Linked DNA regions of Homo sapiens: regions 1 and 3 are each linked to region 2. Evidence: promoter capture Hi-C in human tissues and cell types (Jung and others, 2019). All regions are on one chromosome and are shown on one strand. Each heading gives the region's core, a stretch centred on a gene start or on the middle of the fragment in contact. The rest is flanking DNA. Distances are from core to core; before and after follow the strand shown. Region 1 overlaps PIK3R6 (phosphoinositide-3-kinase regulatory subunit 6). Region 2 holds the start of SPDYE4 (speedy/RINGO cell cycle regulator family member E4). Region 3 holds the start of LOC105371525 (a long non-coding RNA gene).

Region 1 (4,259 bases), core at 328-2,827, 66 kb after region 2:
AGGATGAAGGGGTCCACAGTCCGGGATGTGTCCAGGGAAGGAGGCTGTGATGGAGACAGGGAATGTCTTCACCAACTCCCCCAAGGCCACTGTGGGAGATGCCATTTTCTTCAGAGAGAAACTTCAAGCCCCTACATCTCTGGGATGCACTAACCCAGTGCGTCCTTCAACACATTCCAAACCTTTCCTACCACTGAATTTCCACTCCCAATCAAAATATTCCTGTCCAGAGCCCTGCCTCCCTAGGGAATCCGACTGATTTCAATCCTACAGAGACTACTGAGCGCTGCTATGTGTGAGGCACTGTGCTAAGTGATTGAGGGAGACAAGATGCTGGAGAGTGAATCTAATGAGAGACCCAGGAGTGGGTTCTAGGCTCGGATGGGCTACTTGCCATTGGCCAAGCAGGCGTGGGCAAGTTATTCAAACTCTATGAGGCCCGAGTGTCCTTCTACAGAAAATGAGAGGTTGAACCAGATGATCTGATGTCTCTTTCAGCTCTGGTGGTCTCTGCATCTATTAATAAACTAATTGGCTGGGTGTGGTGGCTCAACACCTGTAATCTCAACACTTTGGGAGGCTGAGGTGGGCGGGTCACCTGAGGTCAGGAGTTCGAGACCAGCCTGACCAACATGGAGAAACCTCATCTCTACTAAAAATACAAAATTAGCCAGATGTGGTGGCACATTCCTGTAATCCCAGCTACTCAGGAGGCTAAGGCAGGAGAATCGTTTGAATCCAGGAGGCGGAGGTTGCAGTGAGCCAAGATTGTGCCATTGCACTCCAGCCTGGGCAACAAGAGCGAAACTCCATCTCAAAATAAAATAAAACAATTCAGGTTTGCGTGTTATTGGGAATGGACTATGCGTCTTGTCCTCCAGTCCTTCCCTGGTCCCATATGATGATAAAGCATAGTGACTGGGTTTTCAGAACATCTACATAGAATGTGATAGTGTCAGGGCTAGAAGGAAGCTCAGAGTTGATCTCATCCAACTCATATCCGATCCTCTAAGACCTCTTCTATCTCTCACATCTGGTGTACTGAAATATTGTTCCCTTCGAAAGGGTCACACTGAGGAGCTATGAACGTAGTCTAATAATGCTGTCATTGCTCACATTGTTTCTGGTATCTTCATGTGGAAACCGCTTTTGGAGTAAGCATAGGGCCATTCAAATTGTTAATTACAAGGAGAAGGGGAAAACCAAAACCTTACAGTGTCCCAGCGGAGAAAAATAGCTACCAGCAAAGGAGCACCAATGGGGCCTGCATCAAATGTTCCCACTGTAATAGCATCCAAGTTTCAAGGAAAAAGTATTTTAATACCCAGCTAAATGGTCTTTGTGTGTATGCAAAGACATTTTCGGATCAGGTATAAGCCAGAAAATGTGCACCCCTAAATATCCTTATTCGAATAAAATATGTAAGAAGACACCCTCATCAGTCAAATGATAAAGCAAAATGGAGAGCTCAGTACAGTGACAAGTTAAAAAACAGATATGTAAAAGTGGTAAATTAATGTTATATTTTTTACCGCAGTTTTTAAAACTAAAGTAAATAAATGTGTATAAGTCAATAGCTTTCTTTTATATTAGCAGCAGGCACTACCCAAATATAATGGCATAAAGATACCATTCGCAATAGTAAGAAACACTATCACACACGAGTAATAAATTTAGTGAGAATTGGACAGAAGCTGTATGACGCAAACTTTACACTTATACTGAGGGATATATAAGGACACTTGGACAAATGAAGAGCTACACCATGCTCCTAGAGAGAAAAACTCAATATGCGAAAGATGCTAATTCTCCCCAAATTTCAATCGAAATCCAATAGGATTAAAAATAATAACAAAAACAAAACTTGAAATTCTAAAGTTTATCAGGAAGAGAAATAAGCATATTCTGAAAAGTTTTGAAAAAGAAGAATAATAGGGTAGGCAGGCTTCTATAGCCAGATATTAAAATATCAAAAGGCTAATTTGTACAGAAATGAATAAATCAATGAGAGCATAGGTATGTACTAAATACTTACAAGCACATGTAAGGATCACGTACTAAATACAAGCACATGTTAGTATCATGTACTAAATACAAGTACACGTAAGTATTTAGCAAATGATAAAAGTGGCATTTCAAATTTCTGCGGCAAGATGGTTTATGCAAAATAGCTTTAGGACAACTAGCTCAACATTTGGAAAAAATAAAATGACATACTTCACATTAAACAATAAAATTAACTGCAGATAGACAATTAATTAAATGTAAAAATTGAGACATGGAAAGTGTTAAATTATCAGTGAACATTTATTTAAGCTTTTGGAAGCATGACTCCAAAGGCAGAAACTGTAAAGAATAAAAGTGCTATGTCTGACTACACCCAAGTATTAAACTTCTGCAAGTCAAAAAGTGGATAGGCAAGTTACAACTATGGGAAAAAAATCTGCAACATATGTAACAACAAAAAAGTTAGAATTCTCTTACTATATAAAAGCCCTTTCAAATCAGTAAAAGATGAGTTCCCTCCCCACTGCCAGCCACGGTTGGGGTATGGCAGTGTGGGTTTGTGGTTAGGAGAGGGTGCTCTGGAGTCAAGCTGCCTGTTTCCAACTGGCATTCCACCACTCATTCTGTGACTTCAGGCAAGATACTTAATCTCTTTGTGCCTCAGCTGCTCTATCTGTAAAACGGGGCTATGGTGACAATGGTACCTACCAACAGGGGCACCTGCCTCTGGGCTGCTGTGGGAATTAAATGAGCTGCCCTGTGTGTAAGTGTTTAGAACAGTGCCCAGTGCAGCATAAGTGCTCAGGAAACATCAGCTGTTACAATCATTGAAAAATGATTCATTCCACTATAAAGACACATGCACACGTATGTTTATTGTGGCACTATTTACAATAGCAAAGACTTGGAACCAGCCCAAATGCCCATCAATGATAGACAGGACAAAGAAATTGTGGCACATATACACCATGGAATACTATGCAGCCATAAAAAAAGAGTGAGTTAATGTCCTTTTCAGGGACATGGTGAAGCTGGAAACCATCATTCTCAGCAAACTAACATAGGAACAGAAAACCAAACACCACATGTTCTCACTCGTAAGTGGGAGCTGAACAATGAGAACACATGGACACAGGGAGTGGAACATCACACACCGGGGCCTGTCTGGGGGTTGGGGGCAAGGGAAGGGAGAGCATTAGGACAAATATCTAATGCATGCGGGGCTTAAAACCTAGATAAGGGGTTGATGGGTGCAGCAAACCACCATGGCACATGTATACCTGTGTAACAAACCTGCATGTTCTGCACATGTATCCCAGAACGTGAAGTAAAATAAAAATAAATAGATAAATGATAAAAAAAGAAAAAGGATCACAGGAAGCTCACACAAGAAGGAGTATAACTGCCCTACACACTTACGAAGGAATATTTTACTTCGTCTTTTCCACGGTGGTCTGGTCCAAAGTACGAGCCTGGTAAGTGTCCCGAGTGAGTTCAAAGCCACTATCTGGTTAGGGCCCCTGTCTTGAATTCCCTTCATGTCTCATCCCACCTGACTCTTAAGGTCAAAGGTCAAGTGCAGCAGCAAAAAGATGGCCCCCTCTCACCCCCATTTCACCCTCGCTGCCTACTTGGGCTCCTCCGTTCTCCCCTCTGCCCAGACCCCACTCCCGTCCCTCTCTCCCTCCCTGGTACCCTCACCCTCCCCTACCATCTCAGCCAGCTTGTGGATGGCGGGGCACAGCGTGTTGACGTTGCTCTGGTACCACGGGTCTACGCGGCCCAGGAACGTAGCCAGCTCTCCCAGCTCCGGCTGCCTGGATGCTGCAGGCTTCTGGGGGAAAGGGGATGGGGCAGACCCGTCAGGCCCTCTCTCCAGCTCTGCCTTCCAGCTGCCATCAGCCTAGGCTGTGTGAATATGGTCAAGTCATTTAACCTCTTGGGGCATGAATTTCTGCATGTGAAGACACGTCGTTGTTCTGTTTTATAAACTCAGATGAAGCTAGAATATCTTTTGCTGAGGTTCACTCAGCAGGGACATTGAAAAATGATCACCGACTTTAAAAGGGGAGAGACAAGTATGGCTTTGACCTTACTGCTTCCCAATAGGAAGTGGAGTGTGTAGTAGGAAGTGGAGCATGCGGTAGGAGTAAGGACTGCAAGTGTGGCTCTGTCCCCACAACTAGATCAATGGACTTCACTGCCTGCAATTTCCTTTCATGTCATACCAGAAAGTGTGGGGTGTGTGTGTA
Region 2 (4,313 bases), core at 1,374-3,873:
CTGAGAGGATAGGGGTCAGGAGTTTCAAGACTGGCCCAGGGCCTGGATTCCAAAGGACCCTGTGCAGAGGCAGGGGCCACCCATCAACTATGCAACAGGCTACCAGAGCCCCGAGGGAGATGCTGACAAATTATGAGAAGACCTAGAATAGCTGGGGGCGGTGACTCACGCCTGGAGTCCCAGCTATTGGAGAGGCCGAGGCGGGAGGATCACTTGAGCCCAGGAGGCTGAGGCTGCAGTGAGCTATGATGGCAACACTGCATTCCAGCCTGGGCAACAGAACGAGACCCTGTTTCTGAAAAAATAAAAATCAAAATGTGGGCGCCCAAGAGTATGGAATCAGCAGGTGGGAGATGGTAGAGGGAGAGAGGAGAGAAACTGTGGGTTTAGACGCTGCACCCTTCCCCAGGACGTGTGTTAAAGCAGGAACACAGTTGAGTGGAGAACAACCTTACCTTGTCTGACACCCTCAGGTCTTTGTCCCAGGCCAGGAATTTTTGAACGACAGGATCCCCTGTGAAAAGAGAGCCTGTGTCAGGGTGAGAAGTGGAACAGGGTTGCCGTGGGAGCAGCAGAGCAGAGAGGAGAACTGTGTCCCTCTGGGGGAAGTCTCAGGATTGTGGCCAAGGCTTAGGTGGATGGGAGAGGAGAGAAGGACTTTCACTGGGCAAGGAGGGAGGCTCCCGCTCTGAGATTCCCCTGAGGAGAGGCCGAAGGAGGCCTCTGGTGTCAGAGTCTACAGGATGAAGAGCTGTGAATAAGCCATGATGTCCTCCCATCAGACAGGAAGGGACCACTGCAGAAGTCATAATAGAATTCCCATCATTGCTTCCTGAGATAGTCACAGCTGGGTGTGCCCATGGCCTTGTTATCCCCCTCCACGGATGGAGACACTTAGGTTTAGAAAAGTCATCAAGAGACATAGAGTTTCAGAGGGTACAGCTGAAACCAAGCTTTCTTTTATCTTTTATTTTATTTTATTTTATTTATTTTATGACAGGGTCTTTCCTTGTCAACCAGGCTGGAGTGCAGTGGTGCAATCATAGCTCATTGCAACTTCAAACTCCTGAGTTCAAGAGATCCTCCCGCCTCAGCCTCCCAAAGCACCAAGATCTCAGGCATGAGCCACTGCACCTGGCCAGAAACCAAGCTTTCTTATTTCAAGTGCAGACCTTTATTAAGACTAGCCTAATCCTCTATCTCCTAAGCATCCTCCTCCTGCATGGAGCGCTCATCCCCCAGGAGGGCATATTCTTCTTATTGGGAAAGTGTGATTATTGAAAGATTCCACTTTTTTAAAAGAACAGGGTTGGAGGTGCTTTTTGGGGTATCCTCCTACCAAGGAGCCTGTTGAAGGCCTCGTGGTGCTCAGGGAGCACGGAGGATGCTCGCTTTCGCTTCAGCTTCATCTTGAGCCCACACAGCGTCTCCACCACCCAGGTGTCCTCGGGCTCAGGGGCGCGCTCCAACTCCAGCTCCTCCTCCAGCTCCTCCTCGGATTCGTCTGACCATTCGCTCTTCCTTTTCAGGCCAAGGGATTGAGGCTGGGGGCTGGGATCTATCCAAGGGGCTGAGTGAAGAAACCAGGCCATGGTGTCATGTTTCTGCCATTGATCACCTTAGACGCCCCGACCCAGGAACCTCAAACTACTCTTCCATCCTCCCAAGCCTCGCAGACTGTCAGCTTCTCCAAGCCATGTTTCCACCTTTCTCCTTTGCTGATCCCCATCTGCCTCTCCCTCACCTCCCCATTCTTCCGGCTCTCTGTCCTCAAAACATTTCCTCATCACAGATAAGAACTTTCAATTGGAGAAAAATGGAAACCTTCCCTTGAGCTCTGTCTGCTCTCTCTCTCTCTCTCTCTTTTTTTTTTTTTTGAGATGGAGTCTCCCTCTTGTTGCCCAGACCGGAGTGCAGTGGCACAATCTTGGTTCACTGCAACCTCCGCCTCCTGGGTTCAAATGATTCTCCTGCCTCAGCCTCTTGAGTAGCTGGGACTACAGGCACGCACCACCATGCCCAACTCACTTTTGTATTTTTGGTAGAGACAGGGTTTCATCGTGTTAACCAGGATGGTCTCGATCTTCTGACCTCGTGATCCGTCCGCCTCGGCCTTCCTCTCTCATCTTTTGAGCACATCTCCTGACCCCCTTCATTGCTCCCCAGACTTTCTTTACACGTGGCCATGCTTGGCCCCATTCCCTGCACCCTCCTTCCCCGATCCCTGGCTTCCTGAGTCCGTCGTTTCTTTCCCACACACCCTACTCAGGTGCTTCAGATTCCCAGTAACTGGCCCCCTTCCCTCTCCTCAGTCAATCATCTCCCATCGCTTCTCCCTCCAGTCACCTCACCTGATGGTCCTGGCACTTCATCATCCACCACCACCTCGGGGGACCGTACCGTTGTGCTAGGCTGGGGGCTCTCCTCCTCAAACGGGGGGCGCGCTTGACCACTGGCCATAATCTCTCCCAAACACTTTGTTTCTGTCCACAAAACCTAGTCCCTGTTCTGTCCAAAGCCTTCTTCCAGACTCCGTTAGGACCCAGAAGAGTGCGTTTCTCTTCTAGAGGCTCGGGAGAAGTTAGGAGTGAAGAGTAGTTCTGAGAAGTTGCTGTTGTCCACCTGAACTCCCAAGCAACCAGAGTCCGGTCCTTCCAATCAGGAAAGTCGGAATCTCTGATGTCATCGGTCATTCCAAACTGGCAACTACTTTGAAGAAAAACACATGTAACTGCCAGACTGATCTCTTTTCTTGGAGATCCGGGGTGAACGGTATCTCCTGGCAATGTCCCAACCTCTGAGCATTGTCCAAAAGCATCCTCAGGGTCTCCACATTCCTCTTTTCCCTGTCCCAGCAGAGGCTGTGTCCTCTCCACTCTAAACTTGAGGGGGTGTTGGGCTCTCCTCCCCGCTTCTCCTTCCCATTTCAGAGTCTAGTCTGGTGAGAGAGGGAGGAAGGTGGAAGGAAATTTAGGGTAAGCAGAATGATGAGTCCTTCCAAGAGTGAGATTAACATATACAGGAGATCCTGGGTAAATTGACTTGTTGAATGGAGACGTTACGTCGAAGTACTCAATGTGGCAAAGCTTTTTTGCTGAATGTTTACTGATATTCACTATCCTGGATCCTATAGTAGGGGAACATGCATCCTTTGCTCTCAGGCATCTTTGAGTCCAAGAGACATTTTGAGGAATGAAAATCACAGGAGACTGTCCATGGTTTCGTACAGATTTTCAATGGTGTCCACAAGTTCAGGGCATCCATGGATCACCTAAAGCCTGCCCTCCAGTTCAGCTAAGGAACTCTGGTCTATATATCAACTATTACAACATATCTATTTCACTTGACCCCAAAATTTGCCTACTATTTATGTATTTTATGAATAAAATATCCTGTGTATAAAAAGACTAAGGGGAAAATCTCAGCCAGGCCCAGGGGCTCCTGCTCATAATCTCCCTCCTTTGGGAGGCCAAGGCAGGGCGTCACTTGAGGTTAGGAGTTCAAGATTAGTCTGGGCAACATAGCAAAACGTCATCTCTACAAAATATAAACAAAGTAATCAGGAATCGTGGCACACACCTGTGGTCCCAGTACTTGGGAGGCTGAGGCAGGAGGATTGCTTCAGCCCAAGTGTTTGAGGCTGCAGTGAGCTATGATTGCACCACTGCACACCAGCCTGGAGGACAGAGTGAGACTCAGTCTCAAAAATATTTTTTTCGGAAAAAATAAAAATGTAAGAGCTGGATACTATCTCAGATACCATCCAAAGAACCTGTGAGTTCTGGCACAGCTTCCTAATGGGCTCCTAGGAGTCTCTCGCTGATGGGAAAGGCACAACTGAATGAGGAGGCAGATCCCGTCGCTGTGGAAGTCCAATTGTTAGGAAACTCTGCTTACATTGAGTGGACCTTCGCATTCACGATGCTTTCAACCATCAGAACTGGTTGGATCCTTTTACAACAAAACAGAAAATCATCTTTCTCTCCTATTTAATAGGCTTTCAAACATTAGAAGATCAATATTCTGTTGCCATTAAAATTTCTCTTCTGTACCACGTAAAGTTCTGATTAATCACTCTTCAAGCCAGTTTTACATATTCCTCTGTCTTCTAGGCACCTTCTGTAGACAGGCTACAATAAGGCAGCCATCTTAAATTATGTCAATACATTGTCCAAAAATGAGCTAAACAGTTCAGGTTTCATCTGATATGTTCAGGGAAAAGCAAAACTATCACTTCTCCCCTTCTCTTTTCCTTCAGTGATGCAGGTTAATACAACAATGGCTGTAGCTATGCACCAAAGATATCATTAGAG
Region 3 (4,475 bases), core at 1,049-3,548, 86 kb before region 2:
CTGGCCGCTCTTGTCTTTAGAGCAGGACATTGTGAAGGTTATTCGAGGGGCTTAAAAGGTTTTGTTTTGGTTCATGGCCTAATTTTAGCTTTCCGTCTTTCTGAAAAGTTAAGATTTCTTCCCTTCTGAATAAGTGGGATGTTATTATAATGAAATGCACAAGTTCCTTTAGAACATGCTATGGCAAGCTATCCAAGTTAGAGCTGTTGCTGAGGGAACCAGGCAAAGCTTGCTTAATGTATAAACCTGGTTATTATATTTAAAATTCAAGCAGCAGCCAGAGATTCCTATCGGGAGAGGGAAGACTTTACTTTTGAAGAGGAAAAGTACTTAACTCCTAGAGGAAAGCGTCATTCCTGAGGTTTACCCTCATGGTCTGGAGACAAACACGTGGGACTTTTCTTTTTTGTGTGTGTTTCTAATAGTGGAAGAAAAGGAAAGCCAGGCTAAGCAGAGAAAAGTGGAAGAGGAGACACAGCAGCTCATTCTTTCCCAGTAGCCGTTAGACTGATTGCGGAGGGGAAGGTCAAAAGAGAAGTTCACAACTATGATACCAGCTCTAGAGGCGAAAGAACAACTGAGAGAGAACTATCCAAGAAGTGTTTGGATCCCGAAGCACAAAGGTGAGGAAAGAGCAAAATATGGCTTTCCCTCATAAAAGAAAATACAGCTGACCTCTGAACAACAAAGTGGCGGGCGTGGGGCGGGGGCGGGGGGGGGGCGGTTTACTCGCGCCGACAACCACGCAGCTGAAAATCCACGTACAATTTTTTTTTTACTCCCCCAAACTTTACTAATAGCCTTCTGCTGACTGGAAGCCATGCTGATCACATAAACAATTAACACATATTTTGTGTGTTATATGTATTATATGTTGTATTCTTACAATAAAGTAACCTGACTGGGCACGGTGGCTCACGCCTGTAATCCCACCACTTTGGGAGGCCGAGGCAGGTGGATCACGAGGTCAGGAGTTTGAGATCAGCCTGGCCAACATGGTGAAACCCTGTCTCTACTAAAAATACAAAATATTAGCCGGGCGTGATGATATGCACCTGTAGTACCAGCTACTCGGGAGGCTGAGGCAGAAGAATTGCTTTAACCTGGGAGGCAGAGGTTGCAGTGAGCCAAGATCGCACCACTGCACTCCAGCCTGGGTGACAGAGTGAGACTCCGTCTCGGGGAAAAATTAAAAAAAACCATATATATATATATATATATATATATATATATATATATATATATATATATATTAGTAAGCCAAAGGCCGGGTGCGGTGGCTCATGCCTATAATCCCAGCACTTTGGGAGGCCAAGGTGGGTGGATCACTTGAGGTAAGGAGTTCAAGACCAGCCTGGCCAACGTGGTGAAAACCCATCTAAAAATACAAAAATTAGCCGGGTGTGGTGGTGTGTGCCTGTAATCTCAGCTACTTGGGGGCTGAGGCAGGAAAATCGCTTGAACCCAGGAGAAGGAGGTTGCAGTGAGCTAAGATAGTGCCACTGCACTCCAGCCTGGGCAACAGACCCTCTCTCAAAAAAACAAAAACCAAAAAGCCCCCAAAAAACCCAATAAAGTAAGCCACAGAAAATAAAATGTTATTAAGAAAATCGTAAGGGGCCAGGCACAGTGGCATACGCCTGTAGTCCCAGCTACTCCGGAGGCTAAGGCAGAAGAATCGCTTCAATCCAGGAGGCGGAGGTTGTGGTGAACCAAGATCACACCACGGCACTCCAGCCTGGGCAAAGGAGCTATACTCTATCTCAAAAAAGAAAAAGAAAAAAAGAAAAAAAAGAGAAAAAAATCATAAGGAAGATAAAATATATTTGCTACTCCTTAAGTGGAAGTAGATCATCATAAGGTTCTTCATCCTCATCACCTTCACATTGAGTAGGCTGAGGAGGAAGAGGAAGAGGAGGGGTTGGTCTTGCTATCTCAGAGGTGGAAGAAAATCCACGTATATGGTGGACCTGCACAGTTCAAATCCGTGTTGTTCAAGAGTCAACTGTAGGTTAAACAATTAAAACGTCGAGGTCAAAGGATGAAGACATTAAGTTATCCTCGTCTCAAGCTAATGTCTCCTTCCCAGACTTCTCCCTCCCGCCGCCCTCACCCTCACCCACCACCCTGATGCCTGTGGGAGGGGAACCACAATAGGCCAAAGAATCCTAGATTTCAAAAGATCACCCAGTTTGTCATGGTTATTTAACCGTTGCAGAAACCAAGGCCCGCAGAGCTCAGGGAGGAATTCGAGTCCTCACTCCTAATCCAGCATGCTTTCCCACTGTATCATCCAGGGCAGGGACATCCCTGGAAAATTCAGCAATGTTCTCACTTAATAGTACTCCGCCCCCAGACTTATACAGAGCAATCTTTATTTATTTATTTATTTATTTTTTTGAGAAGGAGTCTTGCTCTGTTGCCCAGGCTGGAGTGCAGTGGTGCAATCTCGGCTCACTGCAAGCTCCACCTCCTGGGTTCACGCCATTCTCCTGCCTCAGCCTCCTCAGTAGCTGGGACTACAGGTGCCTGCCACCGCGCCTGGCTAATTTTTTGTATTTTTAGTAGAGACGGGATTTCACCGTGGTCTCGATCTCCTGACCTCATGATCCGCCCACCTCGGCCTCCCAAAGTGCTGGGATTACAGACTTGAGCCACTGCGCCCGGCCGAGAGCAATCTTTCCAAAGTTTGCTCCACAAAACACTAGCCCAGGAGATGCTCTATCATCCAGCAATTTCACTTCTGAATCGAAGTGGGGACTGGAACAGATATGTATGCTCCCCTGTTCACAACATCATGATTCACAATAGCCAAGAGGAAGAAACAACCCTAATCTCCATCAATGGATAAGTGGATAGATAAAATGTAGCATATACATATGGTCCTACAATTATTCAGCCTTAATAGGAAGGATATTCTGACACTTGGTGCAACACAGATGAAGCTTGAGAACATTATGCTAAGTGAAATAAGTCCAACATAAAAGCACAAATATTACACAATTCTGCTTATATGAGGTAGCTGGAGTAGTCAAATGCATAAAGACAGAAAGTAGAATGGTGCTTGCTAGGAGCCAGGAGATCAGGGAATGGGGAGTTACTGTTTAATGGATACAGAGTTTCAGTTTGGAAAGATGAAAAAGCTGTGCAGATGGATGATAGTGATGATTGCACATTGTTACAGCGTGAAGATACTTAATGCCCCCGGAATGGTAAACTTTGTGTTACATATTATTTTACCAGAATTTTTAAAAGGAGGACAAAATGAGAAGTGTTTCACTAATTAATGGTATCACCAAACAAGCAAGTCTGGGGAGGTCTGATTACATTTTCCTACACACACACACACACACACACACACACACACACTTGCCCTGGCAAGTCACAGTGCACATTCAATAAAAGACCCAGAGCAGTCCTAAATCAAAGACTATTTAATTCAATTTAATCAAGCATTTCCTCAACAGAACACAGAGCCCTTTTTATTTTTGTGGAACATGATTAACAGCCCACATCCATGGTGCGTCCCTTGGGAAATGCTGATAAGGAGCTTCATACTGCTCAAAGCATTTCCTCTGCTAGTACCTCACTGAATACTTCCTGCTGGCCAAAAAGACAGTCCCTAACAGTTAGAGCTCCAGAATCTTTATTGACTATTGGACAGTCAGTGAGTTAGTCATTAATTGTCTCCATTTTATTGATGAAGAAACTGTGGCCCAGGAAAGTCAAGCCCTAACCCAAGGTACTGCAAAGCTGCTCTGCCAAGATCAGTGGTAGAGCCACACCAAAACCCCAGTTTTCTAAACCCTGTCCTGGGCTGTGCCTCCCCAAACCCAGTGCTGATCCCCTGATGCTCCTTCTGGGTGTCCAGGTGTAAGCAAAGCAAGTTCATAGAAGAGCCTCAGAGCTCTGGGGTTGCTGGGAACACCAAAGGGGACAGAAGGACTCAGGGACCATAGGCCCCCTTAAAGGTTAGTGCTCCAAGCCCCAGTCTCTCTTTTCTCCTCCTTTCTGCAAAACAGGGCTAGGGAAGCTCAGAGATATCCTGTCACCAACAAGCAATCCCTGACTTTTCCTGATGTAAGAATGTAATACACCCCTGACATCATAAGACTCGTCCAGGGTGCAGATTAAGATATAGACTCCCAGGCCTGCCTCCTGGAGATTCTGATTGAATACGTCTGGGGCAGAACTTGGGAATGTTTTAAACAAACATCCCAAGGAATCTTATCTTGGAGGAAGAGTGAGTACCCCTGACCTTCACACTAAAAGGGACCTCAACAGAATACCTTCTGGCTCAGCTCCTTGCCCCACGGGTAAGACAGCTGAGTCTCCACAGAGCCTGCGTGACTGTCCAAGTTCACATGGCTACTTTTTTCCAAAGGCTTTAAAAACACAAACAAAAGCCCAATGTTCATTTCCTTGAGGAAAGAGGCAGGTCTAATTTTTAAAATAAGAATTGATTTCTATGCTCC

The links. The method cuts DNA at HindIII sites, captures the fragments that hold promoters and counts their contacts. A contact is called where the count stands out against the background at its distance.
Region 1: a contact is called between a fragment that was not itself captured here and the fragment with the promoter of SPDYE4 in region 2, in 2 of the 25 tissues and cell types used here (lymphoblastoid cells and pancreas).
Region 3: a contact is called between a fragment that was not itself captured here and the fragment with the promoter of SPDYE4 in region 2, in 6 of the 25 tissues and cell types used here (H1 embryonic stem cells, heart left ventricle, liver and 3 more).

The regions. Positions count from the first base shown.
Region 1 is chr17:8,823,454-8,827,712 of GRCh38, forward strand. PIK3R6 (phosphoinositide-3-kinase regulatory subunit 6) reads right to left here. Exons shown (of 20, transcript NM_001010855.4): 13 at 3,719-3,841; 14 at 1-44. Among named protein-coding and RNA genes, the nearest start is that of MFSD6L, 26 kb to the left of the region's middle. RefSeq lists an enhancer at 4,132-4,259. The HindIII fragment of the contact is 6,216 bases long and covers 1-4,259 here.
Region 2 is chr17:8,755,923-8,760,235 of GRCh38, forward strand. It overlaps SPDYE4 (speedy/RINGO cell cycle regulator family member E4), which reads right to left and starts at 2,624. Exons shown (of 7, transcript NM_001394956.1): 1 at 2,352-2,624; 2 at 1,340-1,570; 3 at 456-514. The coding sequence starts at 2,460. The HindIII fragment of the contact is 5,925 bases long and covers 1-4,313 here.
Region 3 is chr17:8,670,306-8,674,780 of GRCh38, forward strand. It overlaps LOC105371525 (a long non-coding RNA gene), which reads left to right and starts at 277. Exons shown (of 4, transcript XR_001752781.1): 1 at 277-623. RefSeq lists an enhancer at 1,698-4,475. The HindIII fragment of the contact is 4,950 bases long and covers 1-4,475 here.